Regions from separate parts of the Homo sapiens genome. Here region 1 is linked to region 2. The links are contacts of gene promoters, found by promoter capture Hi-C in human tissues and cell types (Jung and others, 2019). All regions are on one chromosome and are shown on one strand. The core of a region is centred on a gene start or on the middle of the fragment in contact, and the rest is flanking DNA. Distances in the headings are between cores, read along the strand shown. Region 1 overlaps STK32A (serine/threonine kinase 32A). Region 2 holds the start of GPR151 (G protein-coupled receptor 151).

The links. The method cuts DNA at HindIII sites, captures the fragments that hold promoters and counts their contacts. A contact is called where the count stands out against the background at its distance.
Region 1: a contact is called between a fragment that was not itself captured here and the fragment with the promoter of GPR151 in region 2, in 1 of the 25 tissues and cell types used here (dorsolateral prefrontal cortex).

What each region holds. Positions count from the first base shown.
Region 1 is chr5:147,364,049-147,371,195 of GRCh38, forward strand. It overlaps STK32A (serine/threonine kinase 32A), which reads left to right. Exons shown (of 13, transcript NM_001112724.2): 9 at 6,606-6,722. Among named protein-coding and RNA genes, the nearest start is that of STK32A, 130 kb to the left of the region's middle. The HindIII fragment of the contact is 3,105 bases long and covers 3,755-6,859 here.
Region 2 is chr5:146,511,824-146,518,930 of GRCh38, forward strand. GPR151 (G protein-coupled receptor 151) reads right to left here and starts at 4,367. Exons shown (of 1, transcript NM_194251.3): 1 at 1,321-4,367. The coding sequence starts at 4,290. The coding sequence ends at 3,031. It overlaps TCERG1 (transcription elongation regulator 1), which reads left to right. Exons shown (of 23, transcript NM_001382548.1): 23 at 1-138. The HindIII fragment of the contact is 7,544 bases long and covers 1-7,107 here.

The DNA.
Region 1 (7,147 bases), core at 4,057-6,556, 850 kb after region 2:
GTACTAAAAATACAAAATTAGCCGGGCATGGTGGTGGATGCCTGTAATCCCAGCTACTCAGGAGGCTGAGGCAGGAGAATCACTTGAACCTGGGAGGTAGATGTTGCAGTGAGCTGAGAACACAACATTGTACTCCAGCCTGGGCAATGAGAGCGAAACTCCATCTCAAAAAAAAAAAAAAAAAAAAGAAATCTCCTCAGCTAAATATCTCATTTCATCACTCACAATTTCTACCTTCTGCAAAATAGTAGAACACAGTTCAGACAAGCTCCTTGCCACTTTATAACAAGAATCACCTTTCCTCCAGTTTCCAATAACATGTTCCTCATTTCTGTCAGACCTCACCAGAATCACCCTTAATATCCATATTTCTAGTGCATACATCCACAGTCTTCCAGCTCAATAACTAGTTCCAAAGTCACTTCCACATTTTAAGGCATTTGTTCCAGCAGCATTCCAATTCTCAATACCAAAATTTTAGTCTGCAATATCTGCCTTCACAAAATACCACAGAATTGGTGGCTTAGGCAACAGAAATTTATTTTCTCAGTTATGGAGTCTAGAATTCTGAGATTAACGTGCCATCATGGTTGGGTTCTGGTGAGGGCTTTCTTCCTGACTTGCAGACAGCTTCTTTCTTGCCCTCACATGACGGAGAGAGAGATAATCTCTTTCTCTTCTTTTTGTAATAAGGCCACTAATCCTATCCTGAGGGCTCCACCCTTATGACCTAATCTAACCCTAATTACCTCCCAAGGGCTTCATCTCCAAATACCATCATATTGAAGGTTAGGGATTAAATTTAGAAATTTTGGGGGGATACATTCAGTCTGTAACAGGTTGTATACTCTCAAGGTCCCAGTGATGGATGCAATCAGTGATTCCTCTAAGACCAAAGAGTTGAAGACCTGACTTTAGGAGCTTGTTTATCCCACAGAACTAAAGAATTGGGTATCTCAAGTCATCATCCAGATACTGCAGCTCTCCTCTCCTAACTTTTTGGAGTCATTCTTTCTGCTGCTGTCAATAGCCCTCTTCTTTGGTCCCACAACACACCATCATGATTTCTGCATTAAAAATGCCATCTCCCAAGTAATTAACCTATTCACAGTAAGAACAGTTGTTAGAAGTTGGGGTTATTTCATCATGGTCCAATGGCTTTATCTTGCTCAGGAAATCAAAGATGAGTGTTTCTAAAGCAAAAAAAAGGAGGATCTCACAATTGTATCTGTTTCATTCACTCTGCAGGGTCCATTTTACACCCAAACATTCATTAGTTCATTGTTTGTACTCCTGCCTTTCCTGAGGAAGTCATTGTAGCACTATTTCTTAAGTATATTCAAATTTGGATAAGTTAGTCAAATTGATGTGAAAGGACCACCCTTGTAAGCCAAATGTGTAAGTCCTACATAGGGATATTACCTGTTTTTATCTCCTGATGGGCTTTTTTTTTTCAAGTTTCTAAATAAATCCAGTGAACAAGTAGATACGCTACTCATGATTATATAGGAAAACAGAGAAGAGAAACATACACTTACTTAAAAGTAGAAACATATCTGCTCTTTCCCACTTCACCCTTAATTTTTTTCTCCCCAGCCAATTTACTCACCTTCTGTGGCTGTGCTTCTGTGTTAGACCCTTGCTAGCTGCTTCTGGGGTTCAGAGCAATTGTGCTCTGCCCTCATCTTTTATGACACACCTAGCAAAACAGAAGCAGAGGAGCGAGTTGAAACAGACAAACGACTATCTGTTATTCTTCAAACATGCCTAGGATTGTATTTAACTATCACCTATCTAAAAGAGGTATTCTCGCCTGCCTGGAAAGAATTTTGCTAAGAAAATTGTTTCTCTTCTTCCCATATTATTTTACCTCTATGCTAGTTCCCTGTGATTTGATATGTCAACTTTGACAAATTCATTTTTCTAAAGCACAGATATGACCTTTTTTGTTAAGAAAAAGAAACTACTGTTGCTCCCCAGTGCTACACACACACACACACACACATACACATACACACCCTTCACAAGCCTTATCTGCACCCCCGCCCACTCCCCACAACAAACTTCAGATGTCTTAGCTTGGCATTCTTCGGAATTAGGTCAACGTTTCAGATTTTGCTTCCATTTGTGTATTTCTGACCCTTCATGAACTCATTTTGGCCTCTTAGAACTTCTTCCTCTTCTCAAAGCATCTCTTGGGTTTTTTAACCTCTTGTTCCTTCGCCTATAAAGAGAGTTTCCAAGGCAAACCTTGGTCTTCTTTAAAAATCACTCTGCGTAAGATTTGAAATCACTAAATGAAGTTTTAATAAAGGATATATCTTCATTGCAGGGCTTTTCAAAATCTTTATAGCCAAGTATTTTGGTCATTTCTAAGAAAGGACACACTATTAAACTATTCCAGTTCGTGTTGGGGAGGTTTTTCTAGATCTCTTTATATTCAAATTCTATTCATACTTTATCACCTATGACAAAATAGCACTTTCTCTAAAGAAACATTCTCTGACCTCCCTATCTAAAGTGATCCGAATCTCTTCCAAACATTTATTTACTTTATGTATCCTGTGAATCTTTGGAATCTAAGCTTATTAGAAAATATAGAAAACCACGAAAATGAAAGCAAAAATCAGCTGTAGTCTCTAAGGCAAAGAACATTTCCAATTAAGAAATTAAACTCCCTTTGACTTTTAAACCCCATCTTAGCAGTTTGTTGCATTCACTTCCAACTTGTTTCTGTTCTCATAAGGATACTCTATCTTCAGATAGATAGATATAGATAGATGTGTTGTTTTAGCAAAAATAGAAGTATGTTTTACCTTGTTGAGCCTTTTTTTTTTTCATTTCATAAGATAAAATGTACAGCTTTCTAGATCAGAACACCTAAATCTATTTTCTTTTTAAGGATTAAATCTATAGGCATATCAATTTTTATTTTTTATCTCTTGTATATTATTAGGTTGTTAATTCATTAAAGGTAAAGTATGTATCTTATATAGGTTAGTATTATTCACAGTATTTAACTGTTTTTTTTTTCCTCAGGAGAGTCTTGCTCTGTCCCCCAGGCTGGAGTGCAATGGCCCAATCTCGGCTCACTGCAACCACCCCCTCCTCTGTCCAATCAACCCTCCCGCCTGAGCCTCCCAAGTAGCTGGGACTACAGGCATATGCCACCATGCCTGGAAATTTTTTGTATTTTTTGTAGAGTTGGGGTCTTACCATGTTGCCCAGGCTAGTCTTGAACTCCTGGGCTCAAGCAATCCACCTGCCTTGGCCCTGCAAAGTGGTGGGATTACAGGTGTGAGCCGCCGCACCTGGTCACAATATTTAACTTTAAATAGGTATATAATACATGGTTATTTTCACTCACATCCATGTGAAGAGACCACCAAACAGGCTTTGTGTGAGCAACAAGGCTATTTCACCTGGGTTTCAGGTGGGCTGAGTCCGAAAAGAGAATCAGCGAAGGGAGATAGGAGTGGGGCCGTTTTATAAGATTTGGGTAGGTAAAGGAAAAAGGGGGGTTGTTCTCTGGTGGGCAGGGGTGAGGATCACAAGGTGCTCAGCGGGGGACGTTTTGAGCCAGGATGAGCCAGGAGAAGGAATTTCACAAGGTAGTGTCATCAGTTAAGGCAGGAACCGGCCATTTTCACTTCTTTTGTGGTGGAATATCATCAGTTAAGGCAGGAACCAGCCATCTGGATGTGTATGTGCAGGTCACAGGGGATATGATGGCTTAGCTTGGGCTCAGAGGCCTGACAGTTATTGAATGAATGGAGAAACAAATCACTTAGACACCTTCTAGGAAAAAATGACCAACTATGCTACCTGCAATTACGTTTCAAAATGTAGCTTATCTGAAGAAAAGGAAGTAACATTTAATTACAAGCATCAATACAACTCAAGCACAGAGGAAGTGTGCTAAACAATTTCCTCCATACGTACAAATTTTTATTTACAGAAAAGTATATGTCTTAATGAGAAAATGTGCTCGAAAACATTCTCATCATTTCTGAGTTTGGTTTCAGTCTTAATGAATGTGTCCCTTAACTATTAATCTGCTTTGTCATCTCTCTAACTCCCTACTATCTCATTGCCATTGCAAAGGCAAAGGTCCACATCTTTTATAGTTTCATATTATCCAAAAGTGTTAACTTAGGATAGATGTGTACATAGTTTTGTACTCATTGTACATGCTTAGCTGCAATTCTTTTGCCTTTGCACTTCTGAAATACAACCATATTCACAACACATCATTTGTTCCCTTATAACATTTCACCTTTTCCACTTTGTTTATTCTCTATATGCTCACTGTTAGTTTAGATGCTGCCTTAGGCTTTTATGATATATACTGTGACTGCATACTGTAATTTTTCTCTATAGCATGTATCCCATTTATTTAAGTGTGTGTGTGTGTGTGTATACAGTCTATATAATAAATTTACATGCTTCCTTAAGTAGACTGTAGGCCCCACCAACATAGAAACCATATGTGTCTTGTTCTTCATTGTACCCTCAATGCCTAAGAAAGGTGCTGGAACATGGTAGGCATTCAATAAATAATTGGTAAATAAATAAATATACAATTCTGGTAGTTGATTAATTCAAATTAATTTTAAAATTTAGAACTGTAAAAGTAAATTAAAAAATAAGATAAAGACAATGTGATTATTTTTTAATAAACCAACAGGTCATGGAGATTTTAAAAATTAAATTCAGTCATATGGCCTTGTAAAGTAACTAGAGAAAAATGTACACACTTAAACCAGCTGCTTGTGGCATTCATCAGTTAATTCATTTGTTTATAAAATCATTTTATTTTCTAGGTGGCCCAGAAACAGTAGGTTGAGAAGCAGCAATGAATTAAAATCAAGAAGAAACACAGAAAAAAGTAAAAACACATGTGCATACACATATAAGCCTAGAAGCTTGAGTATACTAAGCCTAATCTGATTCTTAATGATAAACATGGTCTGAATCATATGGAGTAACCTAACCCTTTGGCTACTAAATTACCAATAAACATTGATAATGGTGATAAAGCATCTAGCACTCCTTTACTGATATTGAGTTAATGAGTTATTTCTACTATATAATTACCAAGACATATGATATAGCTATGGTCCTTTATTTAGTGTTGAGGGGGTAAATATGGCAGTTGTTTTTAGATCTTACTTAAAAAGCAAAAATGTTTGAATTAATCTCCCTTTCAAGGGCCACCTCCTGGCACTTCATGGTTCCATGAATAGCTGACATTGACTTGCCATGTGTAAAATTAAGCTTTTCTTCCCATCACTTTTCTTGAGGACTCATTTTGCTGTTCACTATTCATTCACATTTACATATGCCCATTTTTACCTTTGTGTCAATAATGATAAAAATCTCTCTCTTATATTGTGTCTAATACTATTAGCCACTCACTCTGTTGAGAAATTTACACATATTATCTCCTTTAATTTTTCCAGCAATCTCATGAGGTAGCTCATTTTACAGATGAAGTAACAAGCTCAGAAATTGAGTGGAGAAGTTTAGCACCAAATCCTTTTAACCTCAAACACATGATTATTTTATATTACCTCTTAACACTGATTTACTACAGGGAAAAACTTAAACCCTTTCATTTCCCCCAATTTAGGTCATCCATCAACAGTCATTTATTAAATATCTTAAAAGGGCCAGGCATGTGATCAATGTGTATATCCATATTAACTGTGCTGTGGCTAGTTAATCGAATATGGAAATTTTGTTCATTAAATAAACATGTATTGTGCACCTACTGAATGCTTGGTCTCATGAACAAGAATGATATAATCTCTGGCTGTGAGTATCTTACAGTTCACATAAGAGACATGAAATTTCAGTGTTGGTGAGTCCCCTACAAAATAATATAGATAAAGGCTGTCCTCTAGTGTAAAGCTGTGAAAACTACAGCTAATCCACAGTTTTCTTTTGTTTAATTTCTTTTCTTTTTAAATTACTTTTCTTCAAAATTAAAACTGTAGAAGAACCTGGTTCTTCCCCCAAAATTTTTTTTAAAAGCTTCTGCCTCATCACAAAATTCTCCACCCTGCCATACTCTGTGGAACCAGGGACTCATAGCATTTGTGGGACTGGAGTTGATGTTTTCTGAGCAGTTTTCTGTCCTGAGCTTCCTCATTATGTTGCAGTGAAAGGGATGGTATGGTAAAATTCTGGATTTACTTGCAATCAACCCTTACATAATAATTTTTTAGACTTCCATTTATTGAGGACTTGTCCAGTATTTCGTGTTAATACTTATATAATACCTTATAAAACAATTTCAAATCAGCATCTCAGAGGCTGATTCAGTCCACTTGAATGTTTTGTTTGGCTCAGTGGAGTGTTCAACTTTAAAATTTATGGTATTTTAGAAGCGACCATAAATTCCTAGTGTCTCTTTAAGAAAAAGTAGGGGGTCTGGCAACACAGGACCACCTACACATATGGCAACGCAAGAGTCAGCTGGACAGGGTTAGAAATTGATATAGATATTTTATCGGTTGAAAGTTTAGCTTGGAAACATTTGGAAATTTTTTTTTTCTTTTGTCCTATACAAATGAAGACTTTTACTTCTTTTCTCCCTTAAGAGACCGTATCATATTCGCTCCAGTACTTCCAGCAAGGAAATTGTACACACGTTTGAGACGACTGTTGTAACTTACCCTTCTGCCTGGTCACAGGAAATGGTGTCACTTCTTAAAAAGGTAAGAAGGAAGACTGCATGTCCAAACGAAGTAACAAAAGGAAGCAGGCTCTCTGGCTTAAGTTTAGAAGTTAGTATACAATATTGGGGACAGTCATGATAGTATACATTTGTAGAGTGTATTTTCTAGCTGTTAGCTTTCAAATACATGGCTTCATTAACTCAACTCAGATTCCCCTTGGATGTCCCAAAGCCATCTTAAACTCAAAGGACTTCTTTATCTTTGTCTTTCCTGAATATCTTCTCAGGAAATTCTCTCAGTGACTGGCTTCTCTATCCAAATCCACTTACGCCAGCCAGCAACCAGGACTCATTTGTCATCTGCGTATTCAATTCATCACCAGGTTCTGAAATTTTATATTTTAAGTATTAAAATATTTCACTTCTCTCTGTCCTCACTACTATTTCCCTGATCCAACTGCCATC
Region 2 (7,107 bases), core at 3,117-5,616:
TCGTGTACATCACACCATGAATCAGTTCCTAATTGATATATCTAGCTTTACCTCCCGAGTTAAAAAAAAATCTTTTTATTTTATGCCTTCATAGGTTGCTCGTTTCAGAGTGCCACATAAATAAAATGTTTAACAAAATATATATGTTAATAGAATAATTTATTTTCCATTATCTCATACCGACTATGATTGTAACAAATCCTAGAAAGAAGGAATACCAACAGATCTGTATTTGTATGTTGTGTGCATACAGTCACAGACACACACATTCACATCCATGTTATATAGTTCATAGCTTAAATCTATTAAGTGCCATGGAAATTTTGTGAACTCTTTATGTAGGAACCTGGCATTGATCAGACTAAGGTCTTCAGCTGTAAAGTTGATAAACAGGATATGTTTTTTCTTTTTATGCGTACAAAGGATCTTACTCTGTCTCCTAGGCTGGGGTGCAGTGGTGCCATCATAGCTCACTGTAACTTTGAACTCCTGGTTTCAGTGATCCTTCTGAGTAGCTGAGACTGCAGGCATGCATTACCATGTCTGGCTTTTTTTTTTTTCTTTTTAAAATTTTTTTGGAAATGGTTTCACTCTGTTGCCCAGGCTGGCCTCAAACTCCTAGCCTCAAGCCATTCTCCCACCTCGGCCACCCAAAGTGCTAGGATTACAGGCGTCAACCGCCACACCTGGCCGCCTTCTGTTTCCTTTTTTTTCTTTCTTTGAAGTTCATTTTATAAGTTCATTGAGTGATTTTTAAGTACTGTGAGGAATGAAATTGAAGTGCTTGCCAAAAGGAGCACAACTATTATGTAGTATGTAGAAATACGACTGTCTCACAAGGGTAAAGTTTCCAGAATGCCTTATTTTGTTATTCTGAATTCCACATAATATTGTTTGCCCACTTACTACGTTGTTTCTCACAGTAGAGAAGTGAGAAGAAAACAGTTTGGTGATATCTGTTCTAATTTCCTACTTTTGTCTTAAAGTATCTGGGTTTGATCAGATAAGATACAAATCAAACTTCTCTAAGCAGATTTTTTAAGGGATCAAGTCGGGACTTAACTTTGTGTATCAGGTTCTTAATGAAAGGTTCATTGTAATTACTCTTTGTTCCAGTGTCTGCATCTTGATTTGGTGCTTGTTAGCAAACTCTGAAAATCAGTTCACCTTGAGACCTGTTCCAGTGTTAAGGTCAAACAGCCCCATAAAGCTCCATTGTTCCTAATAATGATTTTGGAATGATAATTCAAGACAAAGACAGCTTTAAATCTCCAAAAACTATCGGAAGTAAAGCGTAATTATTTTTATTTCTTTACAAGTTTAAAGTGTCAAACCCTGGAAGCTTACATCCTAAATTTACTACATATAATGAACATAAAAATTATTTATTCAAATAATCACAGACAATGATAATCCTTTTTATAACTACCATATCACAAGACAATATTTTGGATTCTTGGGTTAAATTTTACTTTATTTGAATACATGAGCTTCAAATAAAATTTGTAATGAAGGATGTAAAAAGAATACAGCCCTACCTCCTGTGTTAAAAAGCAAACTATGACCACTTATGAAAAAGCAAAGAATCCGGAAACCCATAGACAAAAAGCAAAATCTTTTTTTTTCCATAACATATCCTTTATATTTCAGATTCTCCATGGCTTGGTTTGCCCTAAAGGCATTTCTATTCTGAGGGAAACTTTCAGTGAAAATACCCGAGTTCCATAACAAAGTAATCAAGAATCATGGGTGAATGTCATTATACTTAAAAGGGGCAGAAATATATCATAATCATGTTTTATTGGGTATGTTTTACCTTGCTATAAAATGAATGGTTATTGCCTGTTACTCAGATTTTACCGTATGTCTGGGTACACAGTTTTACTGCTTTCTGCATTGCCCTTATGCTTTTTATTTTGTATTCTTAACCAAATTCTGTCTTGGTTTGTTGAATTTTCTCTTTTTGATATTAATCTCTTTCTCAGGTTGCTAGATTATTTTTATAACTTAGCCTATAGTATTTTAAAAGTTGAGTAGGGTTCAAGTTCAATGTTCTGAGTAAGGGTAAGTTTAGTACCATTAACAAGAAAGATCACCATCTCCATCTTCTATTTGTATTTGAGGAGTAATCTATACCTATATCATTAACCATGGTTTATCTTGGGAGAAAGGAGATATTAGGAGGAACACATTTCTGCTTATAGAAAAATAACTTTCCCACATTTTGGAAGTGAAGAGAGGACATTTTTTTAAGTATTTTTTCCCCCATATCAGACTACTGAATGTCATTGGAAAGCTGCTACAATTCTTAGACTTAGAAACTGAAGACTCATTCAGGTAGCTTTAAAAAGTTCACTGAAGCAGGCTTTAGTTTAAGTTTGAATTTATTTAAACTTGGCCAGAACCAGCCATGGCTTGAAATGAGTCCAGAATTGGAATAAGGTGCTGTTTCTTTTTCTTTGACCTTCAGTCATGAACATTATGATACGGACTTTTCATCAAGTAAATTAACACTTATTAAGTAAATGAAGAACGCATTAAAATTTATCATTAATGTGTTAAAAATCTCAAGTGAAAGTAGATTTTGAGCTTTGGTTATGTGAAATACAATTTAGTAGGTAAAATTAGGACTAGCAGGTCCTGGGTGAAACTGAAGGTAAAGGGGCTCAGCTTTGACAGAACCTCTACTGCAGGCTCCAGCCGGTCCACTACAGGGCTGGTCCTAGGGGGTACCCAGTAAAACCACTGTGAACAAATGACAGAATAGCCAGGCTGTCTAATCACTTTGACAGCAACATCTTTACACAACACTTAAATTGTTTGGGAAGCCAAGTTCTAATTCTGAAACAATTATTACTTCTAACATGGTTCTCTACTTACCACATTGCACATTTGGAAAGTGTAGATTGTGAAATATTTTTATAATTCCTAATGGTAATAATTATATCAGTTTGTAAAGTCAGCAATATTGATAAGCAGCAGTACAAGTAAATACAATAATCACAGTTTGTTTTGCTTTGAAACTTAAATCTATTTAACACCTTCCCCTGTCTCTTGATCTTCATGTTCCCAGGGGATAGGGTCATTGTCCTGTACAGAAGGGACTGTGTCCCTCTCATGCCAAAACTGCTCTACGTCAGGAAGGATGGGAATCTCTGCCTTCTCAGTTTTCCCTTTGCCAGAGGAGGGAGAGCTGGGTTTCTCTTTTTCTGGTATGGATGCTGGGGATTCTGGAGATGGAACCTTGTCAGGAAGACCCTCTGAGTTGCCAGCTGGTGTTTCCTGAGACTCTGAGACAGTTGGAGGTTTTTTGGTTATCATCCATTTCCATACACCTTTCAAGCCTTCCCTGAACTCTTCCGACATCACAAGAAAAATGAGAGGATTTGCTGAAGAGATGGAAAACATCAAGACTTGAGACAGGGCTATGAAACCTTGTGGTGGGGCCGGGCCTGCAGCCTTCAGATGCCATACCCACAGCCAAGCTACCCATTCGGGGAGCCACAAGAGAGCAGAGATGATGGCAATGCTCAGCAGCATCACTGTGACTTGCTTTGAGCGTATCTGGTTTCTAAGATTTTGAGTCTTAGTTCCTCGTTTTTTACATTGGTCATAAGCTCTCCAGAAATAAAAGCTGGCAAAAAATAATGGAAGGCCAAATGCCAGGAGTGGGTAGAGCTTACCAAACATCGACATAAACTCTTCAGCCACAGCTGGTACATCCACGAGGCACATTTCCACACCTTCATGATGCCTGATGGTGCTAAAGAACCATTCCGGCAGGGGTAACAGGCTAGCCACAGTCCAGATGGCCACCAGCACTGACCAGATGGTGTAGTTGTGGATACTCACTTGCTTGGCTGGGTCACTTGCATACATGAAGCATACTTTGGCCACCACAACGATTGTCAGGCTCTTGGCTGCCATGCATGTGTGGATAAACCAGTCAGAGGACTTGCAGACAAACCAGCCTAGATCCCAAACACTTTTGGAGTACGCCGTAGCTCGGATAGGTGCAGAAAACAGCAGGAGGGAGAGATCAGCCAGGCTGAGATTCAGAATCAGGGAGTGGATCATGGATGGCTTTCCTTTCCAAGCATTGTGAAGGAGGATGCCAATCACACACAGGTTTCCCACGAAGCCCACCAGGCAGACAGCCACCAAGAGAGCCGGGATGATGGTTCTCCAGTCCTGGGAATCAGAGGGCAGGTACCCTCCGGCAAAGTGGAGGTGAGCAAAGGACACATTCATGCTGCTGGAGTTAGAGTCTGCAAAGGCAGCTGCCAGCATCACTCTTCACAGCTTCTTACAGAAGTTAGATTCTTATTTAGGTTTGTCTTTCTGCCTGGGCTCTTTTGCATAGGAAATAAGTACTCTGTCGTCAGTGTCAAATGACACTTCTGGATCCTCCCCTTGCTTATTTCCTGAGAGCAGAATGTGGAAGGAGGCTGGCTGTTAAGCTCTTCTCTGCTGCATACAATATACTTGTGACTGTACCGACTGTCAGATAGCAGGAGCACATGGCTGCTGCTCATTAGCAAGTCTAATACCAAATCGTCAGCCCTGTGGAGTAATACAAATATACCCATAAATGATGAATGAAGAGAACATACATGTAAGTGGCATGTGTTCCTTGGGGGGTCACTAGAGCCAGTCAAGGCAATTATTTTCAACCAGCTCTTCCTAAAATCTTGACTGCTGTCTGTAATTTAGTGAACACTACATCTGAACCAAGTTCTTTGAACTTCACCTGATGGCCGGATCCAGTGGGTCTGGAGTAGGGCCCAAGAAATCATTTCTAACAAGTTCCCATGAGACTCTGATGCTGCAGGTTGGGAGACCACACTTTGAGAACCACTGTTTTAAACTGAGAACTAAAGCTTCCCCTACCCACTCTGCAGAGATGAGCTTCCTCTTCTTTTCCCCAACCCTTACAACCACCTCAGTTCCATCAACAGCTGGCTGAGTTCAAACACAGCTGGATAATGAAAACAAGTTAGAAGTCCTATTAAAAAAATCTAATTATGGATGACTCTCAGTTTATTCTATTACGAGTTTTTAGAAGCAATTTTACAGCTCCAAATTAGAACTGCTTTACATACTAATAAGACTTTTCAACAAGTGATGGTGATGAAGGCAACTGCATGATGAATTAAGCTGCTTTTCAGAGAGCATTCCTAGAGGATTTACCAAGACAAGAGAAATGAAAGAAAAATCAATATCTATGTGGAAGGCATTTAAGAGATTTTTTTAAATTATATTTTAAAGTTGGTAAAGATTTTGTGCTGGGCACACTGGCTCATGCCTGTAATCCCAGAATTTGGGGAGGTGGAGGCGGGAGGATTGCTTAAGGCCAGAAGTTCGAGACCAGCCTGGGCAACAAAGTGAGACCCCTGCCCCCACCTCTACCAAACAAACAAGAAAAAAAAAAAAAAGAAAAAAAAAAAAGTCAGCCATGATGGTGTACACCTGTAGTCCTAGCTACTTAAGAGACTGAGGTGAGAGGGTTGCTTAAGCCCAGGAGTTCGAGGTTGCAGTGAGCTATGACTGTGCTGCTGCACTCCAACCTGAGTGACAGAGTGATCCTCTGTCTCTAGAAATAAAAAAATTCTCAGATAAGATGATTTGGTAGAACTAGCCCTGAAATTTTAAAATAAGCAATGGATACTCTGGGGGGATTAGAGGAGCTCAAAATGTTCAGAGAATGGGGTTTGTGGGGTTGATATGAAGATACATGCTACATTGAGTGTGGCTAGTCAGAAAAGCTAAAGCATGATATACAGGAGAGTATGCTGCTGCATTCAGATCTCTGGATTCTGGTACTGTGCTTTCACGTTTTTCGCAAGTAAAGAAGGGTCTGACGTTTTAAAATTCTTCAGTGTCCTAGAAAATAAATAAGTAGTGATCAGTATAGCTATTGGGACAGTGGTCAGTGGTGCTGGGTTCCTTTGTTTCCATTTCTATTTCCTTTTGCTTTCCTTCCTTTTACCTCTGGGAAGTAGTTGTTCCTATAGAACAGTAAATTGGGGCAACACCTTATTCCAGCAAGGCACAGTAACTCCCAGTAACTACTTAAGGATGAAATATCCTTGAGTCTCAACAAGCATCACTTTTGGGTGTGAAGAGGCCCGCAACGTCTTACAGGGAAGAAAATGGGGGAGGGAGCAGAGTGATGTTTTGCAGATTGTAGACTACAAGGAAGGTAGTTCACTTGATGTATGTGGAAGAGATTCATTCAGAACCAAGAAACAAATATACTGCTTCACACTGTGGCTTATATATTCAAGATTATGATATTCAAGCCTCCTGAAGCTGTATAAGATAAAAAGCTAAATGGGTTCAAGCCACCTTTAATACCATGGAAATTTGATTCTTAATAGACAATTGAGGGAAACTAAAGACTGTCATGTGGTACTTCCCAAGTCTATTGGTACTGACTCAGGGAAGCATCTCCTGGTGCTCCAGCTAGAGATAAAGTCTTTGGACTGAAGGATAATGAACTTTCTCCGCTCTTTTGGGGGAAATTTATTTTAACTTTTTATTTAAAAATAATTGCTTCTGGGCACGGTAGCTCACACCTGTAATCCCAGCACTTTGGGAGGCCAAGGCAGGTGGATCACCCGAGGTCAGGAGTTCAAGACAAGCCTGGCCAACATAGTGAAACCCCGTCGCTACTAAAAAATACAAAAATTAGCCAGGTGTGGTGGCACATGCCTGTAGTCTCAGCTACTCGGGAGGCTGAGGCGGGAGAATTGCTTGAATCTGGGAGGCTGAGGTTGCAGTGAGCCGAGATGGTCCCACTGCATTCCAGCCTGGGTGACAAAGAGAGACTCTGTCTTAAAAAATAAAAAAATAAAAATAATTGCAAATGTATAGAGAAAAAATGCAAGAAGAGCACAAAGAATTGCCCTATATACTTCATCTGAGTTCACCGATTAATTATTTATTGAGACACAGTCTCACTTTGTCACCCCAGGCTGGAGTGCAGTAGCGCACTCTTGGCTCACTGCAAGCTCTGCCTCCTGGGTTCATGCCATTCTCCTGCCTCAGCCTCCTGAGTAGCTGGGACTACAGGTGCCCGCCACCATGCCTGGCTAAATTTTTTTT